Regions from separate parts of the Homo sapiens genome. Here regions 1 and 2 are each linked to region 3. The links are contacts of gene promoters, found by promoter capture Hi-C in human tissues and cell types (Jung and others, 2019). All regions are on one chromosome and are shown on one strand. Each heading gives the region's core, a stretch centred on a gene start or on the middle of the fragment in contact. The rest is flanking DNA. Distances are from core to core; before and after follow the strand shown. Region 1 has its middle 13 kb from the start of LINC02734. Region 2 has its middle 33 kb from the start of FAM181B. Region 3 holds the start of FAM181B (family with sequence similarity 181 member B).

Region 1 (4,169 bases), core at 1,141-3,640, 35 kb before region 3:
TTTGAAAATTTTGTATTCATCTTTTTTCTTATTTCTTTTCCACTGCCTTAAAATAATTTTATTCTTAAGTAAAATATTGAAAGTCTCTTTGTAGATTATCCTATCATAGTTTTTTGCAACAAATGTATATATTCATGTGTATGTATAAATATTATAAAATTTCTTATGACCATAATGACGATAAAGCTTCAAAGTATCAAAACCTTTCTTTTTGCTTTATCATTTCTATTATTAACTGATCAAATCAACATAAATATTAAGCAACTTAATTAATGATTATTAAAGATAAGAGATAAGGTCATATTTGTAAATGCATTTCTTAATGAGATGGATGGGATGGTGGACTTCACAGTGCCTTGATTGAAGGGCTTGTAACATGATCTCTTCATTTTGATGCCCTTGACATTTTACACTTCATGACAATACACTGTCTTAAGATTTGAGATTAATCATCTCCATTTTTATTATTATTATATTATTATTTATTTCAAAATAATCACAAACTTATCAAAGAGTTGAGATACAATACAAAGATTTTTTTGTGGGTATAAACCATTTGAGAGTAAGTTATGACATGATGTCTCATCACTCCCAAATACTTTAGTGTAACTTTCTTGTGAGGAAGGCCATTCTTGTACATAAGCACAGTACAAGAGTTAATATTGGGAAATTAACATTGGTACATTATTACTATATATTTCTTAGATCCTATTCAAGTTACACCAGAATTTGCTCCTTATCACTCCTTGCATTTAGGTGTCCTGTCTCTTTTGTGTTATTCATTTTAGAACAGTTCCTTAGTCTTTCCTTCTTTCATGACTTTGGCAATTTGAAGATTATAGGCCAGCTACTTTGTAGAATGTTCCTTGATTTGGGTTTGTCTACTATTTTCTCATGTTGGATTCAGATTATGCATTTTAGGCAGAAATATTTCAGAGATGTTTCTGTATTCTCAATGCATTCTTATATCAATGATATAAGATTTCAATCTCTCCCTTAATTGATGTTTACACTGATCACTTAAGTTGTACCCTCTGTCAAGTTACATATCCACTGTAAAATTACTCTTACACTACACAAAATACATATTTGTGGAAAGGTATTTTAAAGCTTTGTAAATATTCAATTTCTTAACAAATCTTTAATTTAGTCATATACCTATGAGTGTCTGTTTGGATTTATGGTATCCGATTTTATTTGATTTTTGTCGTTGTTGTTGAGACAGAGTCTTGGTCTTGTCGCCCAGGCATGCAATGGTGTGATCTCGGCTCACTGCAACCTCCACCTCCCGGGTTCAAGCGATTCTCCTGCCTCAACCTCGCAAGTAGCTGGCATTACAGGCGCCGGCCACCACACCTGGCTAATTTTTTTGTATTTTTAGTAGAGACCGGGTTTCACCATATTGGCCAGACTGGTCTCTAACTCCTGACCTCAGGTGATCTGCCCGCCTCAGCCTCCCAAAGTGTTGGGATTACAGGCATGAGCCATCACACTTGGCCTTATTGAATGGATTATGATACATCATGATCATTATTTATTTTGATGCTCAAGTTGTTCTCTATTTAGCGAGTGGCAACCTCCTCAAGCTGGCTTCTGAGTCCTTTGGACAAATCTTCATCATTTTTTGAGCAAGTCTCTTCTGGCACAAAAGATGTTCCAGGCTCATTTTGTGCTTTCCCTCATCAGTATTAAAATCAGCCAGTTATCCAAGGAGTCAAGATCTAAGTGCCAGGTGTGCTCACTACTATTGGGCTACTGCTGTTTCCAGACTCTCTTAGTGGACAGGACCAGGGAACACGCATTTATGTCTATATTTCTACATATGTCTGCCTGTATTGAAAACCAAAAGTTCATAGCAAAGCCTCCAATTCTAATCCAATATAGCAGGGACTATTTTAGTTTCTTTCCCCTACATTTCAATATTTATACCTGTCTTCTCTGAAAGGGAGAATCTTGGCTCTTTTTATCCTTAATATGTTTAATTTTTGATCCATCTCCCTGTATAAAGCCAACTTCCCATCTCTGTCTCCTACATGAATGACCTCTTCCACATTCTTCAACACTGCATGCTGGGCCTCCCCTCTCCATGGATGCCTGCCTTACTTGCTTGGACAAATCATGTCATTCCCCATTCCTCATTGTGCTCTGGCTCTGACACTCCACAGTGAGCTCCAGTCCAATGAACTTCCTTCTTGCCAACATCAGGCTGCCTCCCAGGCTTAATACCTCTCACCCTGCTTGGGCTCTGACACCTGACCGTGGACCACTACAGCTCCCCTTCTTCATCCTGACCCATTGTTGCACTGCCAAGACAGACTTCTACTTTGCTCTGCCTCACCTAAATGCTTTAGAAGTGAATTGTTCAGGAAGAGAAGGGAAAGGAAATAAAGAGAAAGGGAAAAGGATTAGGAAAAGGGGGAAAGAAAAAGAGAAGGGCTATGCCTTGCTTTTTTAAAAAATAAAAGGAAGACAATCATGAGAGCCTAGGACAGGAAATGAGCCTCTATTATCAATTTTAGGAAAGAACCCATATGGAATTTAGGATATGGATATATATCTTGTTAGAGCTACAAGTATCTGAGTACTCTTGAAGAATCTTTTCACATCCTTAGGTGTATGTAACACACTAGTTTGAAGACCACTGATACCTAAAGTAAGTAAATGAAAAATATAAACACCTAGGAAGACACTTCCTACCTCAGAATTCTGGAAAACAGGCCCCCAAACCTTCTAATTACCATAATTTTTTTACCCTAACCTCTGCAAGTCTACTCCTTGCCCCTCTGTCCTTCTTTCATCCAGGTCACCTGTCTAGAAGCATAGTGCTGTCCATCCACAGCTTCTCTGTGTGCTAGAATCCACTGACTTGGCCCTTTCTTCAACTTCCTCCTCCCTCAACTTTAAAACTGACCTCCTTTATAGATGGGGACTCCAGGAGTTCTTCCTTTGCCTTTGCTGGGGGATAGGTCTTTAGTGATCTGTGGTACCTCTGGTTAGAGCTTTTCCCTTCAGGGACTCAGGGCTTGGAGTTCTGAGGTGGGCTGGATTAGAGGACACATTGAAGTGAAGTTGGAAGGAGACTTGAGCTGGGACTTTATATGTAGCATATCTAGGAAAGAAATCTGTTTGGCAGCACTAAGTTCCACATAGCACTATTAAGAGGTAAGTGTTTTATCACCACCATTTTACATAATGAAACTAACATTCTTTACTGAAGTAACTTGGCCAAGATCATAAATCTAAGAGCAGAGAACTAGGCAGATTTATTTCACATAAATTAGTAATTAACAACTTCAATTAAACCTGAGACACTGTCTGGCAATTATATTAGGTTCCTTTAGAATGCTCCTTTACCCACTTTCCATAATGGCCTCTCATATTTTTTTCTCTTTCTTCTGTCAAGAATAAAATTAGATGAAACTAGAATTTTTTCTTTTTTTTTCTGGGAGACTGGAGTTTTATTATTACTCAAGTCAGTCTCCTTGAGCATTTGGGGATCAGATCAGAGTTTTTAAGGACAGCTTGGTGGGTGGGGGAAAGCCAGTGAGCCGGGAGTGCTGATTGGTCAGATCAGAGATGAAATCATAGGGAGTCCAAGCTATCTTCTTGTGCTGAGTCAGTTTATTGATCTGGGTGCTGCCAGCTGAAAACTAGAAATTTTTAAAAAGTGTATTGTGCATACAACAGAACAGTTCACAAACCAGGAGACCTAAAACTGAAAGTGGTAGGAAGCTCTGTTTATAAGTTAAAGTGCAGGCATAAAGTATACATGAATCAGCATATTTATCTTTATTATAATTGGGTATCATAAATCTATATTTCTCTTAGGGCAAGTGGGGCTGCATAAGCTCATTTGTCCATAGTCGTTGTTTTAATTTTTTTAATTTGATTTTTAAATGTGCATATTTGTGTGGTACAATTTGATGTTTCCATGAATATATATGTTGTAAAATAATTAAATCATGGTACTTAGTTTACCTATCATCTCATGCATTTATCATGTCTTTGTGGTAAGCACATTAAAAAGCCTCTCTTCTAGCTATTTGTAATATATAATACCTTTCTGTTAACTATAGTCACTCTACTGAGCAATAGACTTGCTCCTATTGAATTGTAGCTTGTACCTGTTGATCATCCTCTCCCCATCCTCCCCTCCTTTGCTCCCCTCC
Region 2 (4,475 bases), core at 597-3,096, 33 kb after region 3:
GGGTACACGTGCGTGTTCGTTACATGTCTGCTTTTTTAATGCATGCAGGCTCAATAAATGCTCCTTCAATAGAATGGACAGGGGTGCTTTCCCTAGCAGAGGTGGTGTTGCAGAAGTAGATTCTGAGATGGTTATTCAGCTCTGCCTTTAGGATTGACACCTAATGAAGAGACTGGAAGTAGGATTAGCCAGAGAGAGAAGCTGACCAACAACATGGGCCCAATATCAGCCCCAGCCCACCCTGTGGGGAGATCTGGAGCGAGAATGGCCTTTCGGAGGTCTTGAGCTGGGGTAAGTTGGTCAAGCATCTACACTACCGCCTCAGTCAGTCATTGTTATGTGGGTCACTCTGGGGAGGGCGTGACCTTGGGAGAGGCAGGTCTCTGTAGTAGAGGCAATTTGTTAACAGCCGAAGTCTTTCCACATGTACAGTCCCAGCAGCAGGCAACAAGGCATTCACTGAAGTGAATTGCAAGCAATGCACACCGTACCTGCCATGCCTTGATATTGTAAGGGGGTGGGGTTCTTAAAACAATGTTTGTGTTTGTGTGATTATTAACACTCATTAGACTGGACAAAGGAGACTTACTCCCACCCTGTTTGCATGGTTCAATTTGGATGGCATAATGGCCTTTGAACAAAAGGTGGCGCTGTAGTGTCAGTTTTGAGGTGCTTTGCTGCAGCTAGGAATTGTGGCAGAATGATAGGACCATTTGGTTTTCTTTATAAAGAAAACCATAGGAAAGAAGATGAGATGCTATTTTCAAGGGGTTTTTTCCCCTGGCACTGAAATACTTGGAAGAGGTGAGATCCAAGGGCTGTGTGTGTGTGCACACACACACATGTGCATGTACACATGTGAGTACATGTTGGCAGTGACAAAGGGGGTGGAGGATGGAAGACTTATTGTTTGCTCCTTCTCTCACTCCTTTTCTTCTTTGCTTCAGAAAATACCTTAGTGCCAGCTCTTGGGTTTTTAGCTCTAGGCTGATCACCAGGGTAACAGAAATGAGCAATATCTGGAGTCCTCTTTAGGAAGCTTTGGTGGAACAAGGAAATGGCACCTGTATGTGCCTCATACAATAAAAGTTTCATGGGTGCTTCATTTCTAAGTCAAAGATTAGAGAGTGATCAGGGGAGGCTGGAGAGAAGTTAAAAACCAAGCTTTGAATGGTGGTACTGAGCTTTCCATTCAAGAGGCGACTGTTGCACAGGGGCTGGGTCCGGGTTTTGGGGTCACATCCCTGGGCCTATTTCTGACTCCTGCTATTCAGCTGTGTGCACTTAGACAAATGACTTAATCACTCTGTGCTTTAAAATGGCTTCAGCTGGAAAAGAGGATTTTTCTAATTCCTAACTACAGGGCTGTTGTGAGGATTAATTGAGAGCTAATAAATATAAAGGGTTAAGATTAATATATTGCATATGATAGGATTTAATAAGTCCTAGCTATTATTTTTAATATTCTCTATTATTAGTTTCAAAACATTTTTGGGCATATACATTATGCTAGGTCCTATGCTAGTTGCCTGAAAAACAAAGATGAACACAGCACCCTCATGGAGTCAAAGAGGACAAGTGCACAGAGTAGACAATTAAAACAATGTGTGAAGCCCTAGGACTGAGACTCAGGCAGGGTTTATGGGAGCAGGTGGAGGGGCACCAAAGTCACCTTCGATGGGGAAGGGTGTTGGTGATGAGCTTGGGGAAAGCTTCCTGTCTGAGATGCTTCTTCAACTGAGTCAGTACATGATGAGTAGGAGTTCAGCATCGGAGGGTGGGAGAGGATGGCTGGATGAGAGTACTCCATGAAGAAGGTGCAGAAAGGAAGATAGTACCAGACACTGGTGAGCAGGGAATGATTAACAGTTTGGCATTGCCAAAGTATACAGTTCGAGTGTGAAGTAGCAAGGGTTTGGGGTGGGGAGGGCCTGGATCACAGACAGTCATGGCTGATAGTAAGTCACTGAAGGTTTTCAACAGGGTAGTGCATCCAATGACCATGCCTGGTACCCAGTGGGGCTTAAATGTTAATGGATGAATGAATAAAACCTGAGTAGAATTTTAGTGTATGAGTGTAGGGAGTATCAGTGAGATTAGGCCTAAGGTGGATGATTCCATCAGTCCAAGTCTACTGACTCGCTTTAAGCGCACACACACGCACACACACACACAATGTATATTGTAAAGGTAATGTATGCTCATTATAAAAATAGTCAAGTAGTACAGAAAGCCATATAGTGAGAAGGTAAACGTTTTCTTTGCATTCATTCCTTCAGTTCCTTGGAGGTAACTAGTATTAAGAGTTTTTTTGGGTATCTTTCCAGACAGATGTAGGCATACACACCTGCACAGAAAAATGCAGAACAGTGTGGTGCTTAGATGCAAGGATCTGGAGCCAGCCTGCCTGGGTTCCAATGATAACTCTTAGTCTCTGCTATTATAGCTTTATGAGCTTATCCTAGTTACATAACCTCCCTACACCGTGGCTTTCCTATAAGTAAAGTGAACACCTACCCCACAGGGTTGTTATGAGGATTAGATGAGTTATGTATAAAGGAATTACAGTGCCTGGCATATAGTCTTTGTTACATTTATAGATAATCTCTTTTCTAGGATAACACAAGGAAGTCAAAATAAAAAATGTAGATAATCTCTTAAAATGATAAAGGAACATATTTTAATAGTGCTTTGCAGTGTGCTTTTTCTCACACACTAAAGAATCTTACACATCTTTCCACATCAGTAAACATAAATTTACCTCATTGCTTTTAATGCTGCAAGGCACTGTATGGGATGCATATACTGTAATTTATTTAATCAGTCTCATATTTATGGACACTTAGGTTGTTTCCATTTTTCACTCTTACGAACAATGCTACAATGGCTGTCTTTGTGCACTTGTTCAAGCACAAATCACATCGCTGGTATAAGGGAGCCCTACCATAGGGTATCTATTTTTTTCTTCTTCAGTGGAAGCAGCTGCCAACTGATACAACCATGAACAGGCACATCTTGAGGGACACATCTTAAATCTGCACATGTGTACCAGGCTGTGATCCTATCCTGGATAAAAGGTGTAATGGAGTCACTGGGAAGTTCAGGGGAGGGGTTAGGCCAATGGTTGTAAGAAGCTCATCTGGAGGCAGGGAGTTCTACATCTCCCAACTTTCCTTCCTGCACTCATTTTCTCCCTGAGATTCAGAGTTAAGGAGAGGTTTTGGGGTGGATGTTGACGGCCTTGTCTATCTTATCTACGGCCTAATGAATTTCCAGAACCCAGCCCTCTTACAACACTCTTGCTCTCTGGGGAAGTAGCTCTGAGAGAGCTGAGAGAACAGCAGAGTCTGTGATAGTAGGATGAACGCCTCTGGTTTGGCTGTAACACTCATAGATTTTCAAAGAACCACAGGTCACTGGAAAGGGTCCCACACCAGCCACTCTGGTAGGGACCAGGTCTGTTACCACACTTGGGACACTGCCTTCCCTACCTCTGAGCCTTCCTGGGTCATGTTTCCACAAGTACCAGAAGCCCCACCACCCCACCACTCCCAGCCTGTGAAGGGCAGACTCTGGGCCTGCACCTCTGCCACTGTGAAGCAGCCTGCAGACCTGTCTACAGAAGTGAAGTGGCTGTGTGACGAAATCTAAGTTTTGACCTCAAAGACCCAGTGTGATGAGAAGCCCTCTTCATTGTGCTGACTCTTGGATATGGACATTTCATGCTCTCAAAGAATGCCAATGACTGAAATAGGGATCATAAGGGCAACAGGAGCAGTGGGGCAAGATTCATCCGAGGAACACTCCAGAACTAGCCTTCAACAGTGATTGGAGCTGTAGTGAATGAGAAGCACTGGAGGAACAGACATCCCATTTCAGTTCTCTTTTTGCTGGAAGCTGTGAGCAGGGCTGGCGCCCACCCTCACCTTCTGACTGTGGAGCCCTTGGACTTTTAGAAAGTTGGGGCAGGGCTTCAGGAAAGAGATTCTGGACCTCCACATGAGACCGTGTGTCTTAGTTCGTTTGTGTTTCTGTAACACTATAACAACATACCTGTGACTAGGTCATTTGGTAAAAACAGAAATTTATTTCCCTGACAGTTCTAGAGGCTACGAAGTCCAGGATCAAGGCACCAGCAGGTTTGATGTCTAGTGGGGGCCCTGGTCTCTGCTTCCAAGATGTCACCTTGAAAGCTGCACCTTCATATGGTAGAAGGACAGGAGAGAGTAAACCTATTCCCCCCAAGCCCTTTTATAAAGGGACTGATCTCATCACAAGGGCCTCTGCTCTCATGACTTAATGACTTCCTAAAGGCTCTACCTGTTAATACTGTCACAATGGTGATTAAGTTTCAATGTATGAATTTTGGGGAACACATTCAGACCATAGCGGTATGTATATATAAAAACAAAAAAGATGCTGGTATTTGCACTTTGAATTGGGGGAGTAGATGTTCCCAAATTCTTCTTTTAAAA
Region 3 (4,662 bases), core at 2,136-4,635:
TCTCTTGCATTTGAAAATAGTCACTCACTTTGCTGAGGGAAAGGACAAATGATGCTGGTTTCATAGGGTAATGTGTTGGTAAGGAATGGGTGGGGCCTAAGGAATCAAGAACATGGACATTTGTTGAACTGCTATTTTGTGTGAGGTGCTTTTATATATACCATCTCACAACAACCTTGAGGAGTTGAGATTATCTCCACTGTGCAGGTGAGAAAAGTAAGATTCAGAGGCATTACTTGCCTGTTATGTCATGTAATTCTCACCCTGAGAACAATTATGACCATTCCCTTTTTTCAGATAAGGAGTTTGAGCCTTTGGAATATGAACTGACTTGTCCAAGCAGTTCAATAGCAATAGGCAGGGCCAGAATTTGAACCTGGCCTCATCTAACTTCAAATCAACTTTGATGTGCAGAACTCCAATAGAAATGAAGAAAGACTTTTACATATGAAGCTTTTCATATTCCATTTATTTTGAATATGATTTTAGGATTTAGATAACCCTGGGGATTAAGAGTTTTTTCGGAATAAGATGTCGATTAAATGTAGAGTACTGTGCAATTGGTGTCCAAGGACTTGTAAGAGTGCTCAGTTGACAGAAGGTGAAAAAAAAAAAAAGTTAGTGCTTTTGGCTGCCAGACCTGGAAGCCTATGGAATGGCCCTGTTGGAAAGGGGATGGGCAGTGCTGACATCCACATCTGGAGTGGAAGAAGCACAAATCAGTGACAGGTCTGCACAATTTTCTGAATGTGAATACCACCAAGAGTAAAACAGACAGTTCGGCCATGGAGGACAAAATGCTGTGTGTAACTCAAATGAAAAGTCCATGATAATTGAGCCAATTTGAATTTAAAATAAAAAGTTTGGCTCAGCTATGTGGGTTTGGGAAGTGGCTACTTCATCTTCTAAATGAAAAATGTTCATCTGGCCTTTTTTCTTTCTTTCTTTTTTATTATACTTTAAGTTCTAGGGTACATGTGCACAATGTGCAGGTTTGTTACGTATGTATACATGTGCCATGTTGGTGTGCTGCACCCATTAACTTGTCATTTACATTAGGTATATCTCCTGACGCTATCCCTCCCCCATCCCCCCACCCCACGACAGGCCCCGGTGTGTGATGTTCCCCACCCTGTGTCCAAGTGTTCTCATTGTTCATTTCCCACCTGTGCAGTGTTTGGTTTTCTGTCCTTGCGATAGTTTGCTCAGAATGATGGTTTCCAGCTTCATCCATGTCCCTACAAAAGACATGAAGTCATCCTTTTTTATGGCTGCATAGTATTCTATGGTGTATATGTGCCACATTTTCTTAATCCAGTGTATCACTGATAGACATTTGGGTTGGTCCCAAGTCTTTGCTATGTGAATAATAGTCTTTGCTATGTGCCACAATAAACATACGTGTGCACGTGTCTTTATAGCAGCAAGATTTATAATACTTTGGGTATATACCCAGTAATGGGATGGCTGGTTCAAATGGTATTTCTAGTTCTAGATCCTTGAGGAATCGCCACACTGTCTTCCACAATGGTTGAACTAGTTTACAGTCCCACCAACAGTATAAAAGTGTTCCTATTTCTCCACATGCTCTCCAGCACCTGTTGTTTCCTGACTTTTTAATGATCGTCATTCTAACTGGTGTGAGATGGTATCTCATTGCGGTTTTGATTTGTATTTCTCTGATGGCCCATCTGGCCTTTTTTCTTTGGTAAGGCTGTGCCTTCATGGTGTTCAAAAATGGTTTCGCTACATCTACAAAGTGAGGCTTAATAAAAAGAGTTTTGAAAGAGATGGTCTATGTCTCTCCTATGCAAGCTCTGTATCGAAACTAGAGTAACTTATTTAGAGAACACTTTATCACACACACAGTGTTTTCATATAGAGACAGTCCCCAACTTATGATGGTTCAACTTTATGATTTTCCAACTTGAATCAGTGTATTACATGCATTTTAACCTACAATATTTTCAACTTACAATGTGTTTATCAGGATGTTGTTGCTCTATCACAAATTGAGAAGCATCTATGATCTCACTTAATGCTCATGAACACCCTATGATCCAGAAGACACGTAAGGGATATAGTCACCTTTTTGTGTTTCAGAGAAGTAAGGGTGAATACTCATCCAGGCTATGGAACAATGTATCATTTAAATATCACAAGTGCCCTGTGGGGAGGGCAACTTTACCTGCATTTAACATGAGTAAGCTAAACAGAGAGAGTACGCTGGTTTGTCTAAAGCCATGCACTCAGCAGAGCAAGGATTTCAACCTAAGTCATGAGGTTATTGAGTGGTGGCTAAGACCAGAACCCAAGCCTCTTCTGAATCTCTTGTGAAAATGACCTTATTGCTCATTTTCTCTATCTATCCCAAAGAGGATTGCCCAGGTGAAATTAGTTTTAAGTGAACTTCATGATGATCCCTGAAATGCAATGAAAATTCCAGGGATAACCTAAATGGTATGACAGGTAGGGGAGAGGTTCCAATCCATCTTTTATTCTAACATGCTGAGAGTTTTATACACACACAGTGTTCTCAAGTAACAGGGGGCTTAGCCAGATCGACTCCTTTCTCCATTGCCTCCTGCTATGTGTTAATAAAAGATGGGCCACTGCTGGCCTCAATTTACTGTTAGCCAATTGTTACTCGTAACAATCAAGTGGCAAACAGTCAAGAAGAAAGAGCACTGGGCTTGAGAATCCTGGGAAAACTCAGGTTAGAATCTTAGGATCAGGTCTAGAGCTTTAAGAAATACTCATTTTCCTTCCCCATCTTAATAGATGAGAAAGGCAAGGGCAAGAGAGGACGCAAGTATTGTCAAGGGCTTAGGAATGGCTTTGGAGTCAGAATGGGCTAGATCTGACTTTGGCCAACTCACTGAACCTCCCTGAGGTGCAGTGTCCACGTTTGTTGAATGGCGATAACATGTAATTCACAGGGCTGTTGTTCAAGGATTAAATGAGATAATAGATGGACAGCGCCTGGCAGAAGCAAGCGCCCAGAAGCTGGTGGGTGTTGTTATACAGCTGGACTGAAACCCACGTCTCTAGACTCCTGCCTTCTTGCCTCAGGAGAGGCACCACCGCAAGTACCTGCAGAAGCCTATCAAGCGCTGCAGCGGCCTCATGGGCCTGAACTGGAGTTTGAGACCAGCCATCTCTTCCTCACCCCTTGCGGTTAGAGGAGTCAAGAGAAACACCACGGGGCAAAGGGAAACGAAGGAGTTAAGGCGTTGAGCTTCAGAAAGCTCAGAAAACTAAAGCGACCCCCCACTCCTCCAAGCCAGGCTAAGTAAGCCCCTCCCCTCTACCACCGGGACGGTCGCCGCGCGCTCCCTCCCTCCGCCCCTTGCTTACAAGACCTAATGAGCTCCCCCGGGAGGCAGCGCAGCGAGCCAGGCCCGGAACTAGTAGGCTGCGCCGCGCGCGCCGCGCCGGGGCGGGAGCTGGGTCTGGGCGGCGGGCAGGAGCTGGCGGGGGCGCACGGGCAGCGCTGCGGACAGCCCGGGAGCCGCGGCGATGGCGGTGCAGGCGGCGCTCCTCAGCACGCACCCTTTCGTGCCCTTCGGCTTCGGGGGCTCCCCGGACGGGCTAGGGGGCGCCTTCGGAGCCCTGGACAAGGGCTGCTGTTTCGAGGACGATGAGACCGGGGCTCCGGCGGGTGCGCTGCTGTCGGGAGCCGAAGGAGGGGACGTGCGCGAGGCCACCCGCGATCTACTCAGCTTCATTGACTCGGCGTCCAGCAACATCAAGCTGGCGCTGGACAAGCCGGGCAAGTCGAAGCGGAAGGTGAACCACCGCAAGTACCTGCAGAAGCAGATCAAGCGCTGCAGCGGCCTCATGGGCGCCGCGCCCCCCGGCCCGCCCTCCCCGAGCGCCGCCGACACGCCAGCCAAACGGCCGCTGGCCGCCCCTAGCGCCCCGACAGTCGCGGCCCCGGCCCACGGCAAGGCTGCCCCCCGGCGGGAGGCGTCGCAGGCCGCCGCGGCCGCCAGCTTGCAAAGCCGAAGTCTGGCCGCGCTCTTCGACTCGCTGCGCCACGTCCCCGGGGGTGCCGAGCCGGCGGGGGGTGAGGTGGCTGCGCCGGCGGCCGGGCTAGGAGGTGCGGGCACTGGGGGCGCGGGAGGGGACGTGGCAGGCCCCGCGGGGGCCACGGCGATCCCAGGGGCCAGGAAGGTCCCGCTGCGGGCACGCAATCTGCCTCCGTCCTTCTTCACGGAGCCGTCCCGGGCAGGCGGCGGCGGGTGTGGCCCGTCGGGGCCGGACGTGAGCTTGGGCGACCTGGAGAAGGGCGCGGAGGCCGTGGAGTTCTTTGAGCTGCTGGGGCCCGACTACGGCGCCGGCACGGAGGCGGCAGTCTTGCTTGCCGCCGAGCCTCTCGACGTGTTCCCCGCCGGAGCCTCCGTACTGCGGGGACCCCCGGAGCTGGAGCCCGGCCTCTTTGAGCCGCCGCCGGCAGTGGTGGGAAACCTACTGTACCCCGAGCCCTGGAGCGTCCCGGGCTGCTCCCCGACCAAAAAGAGCCCCCTGACTGCCCCCCGCGGCGGCTTGACCTTGAACGAGCCCTTGAGCCCCCTGTACCCCGCCGCTGCGGATTCTCCCGGCGGGGAGGACGGGCGGGGCCATTTGGCCTCTTTCGCCCCCTTCTTTCCAGACTGCGCC

What was found. Contacts are between HindIII fragments. The study calls those that stand out against the background at their distance.
Region 1: a contact is called between a fragment that was not itself captured here and the fragment with the promoter of FAM181B in region 3, in 1 of the 25 tissues and cell types used here (adrenal gland).
Region 2: a fragment that was not itself captured here is called in contact with the fragment with the promoter of FAM181B in region 3 in 2 of the 25 tissues and cell types used here (hippocampus and pancreas).

What each region holds. Positions count from the first base shown.
Region 1 is chr11:82,766,791-82,770,959 of GRCh38, reverse strand. No RefSeq gene overlaps it. Among named protein-coding and RNA genes, the nearest start is that of LINC02734, 13 kb to the left of the region's middle. The HindIII fragment of the contact is 3,483 bases long and covers 649-4,131 here.
Region 2 is chr11:82,698,208-82,702,682 of GRCh38, reverse strand. No RefSeq gene overlaps it. Among named protein-coding and RNA genes, the nearest start is that of FAM181B, 33 kb to the left of the region's middle. The HindIII fragment of the contact is 4,112 bases long and covers 1-3,902 here.
Region 3 is chr11:82,732,587-82,737,248 of GRCh38, reverse strand. It overlaps FAM181B (family with sequence similarity 181 member B), which reads left to right and starts at 3,385. Exons shown (of 1, transcript NM_175885.4): 1 at 3,385-4,662. The coding sequence starts at 3,520. The HindIII fragment of the contact is 21,418 bases long and covers 1-4,662 here.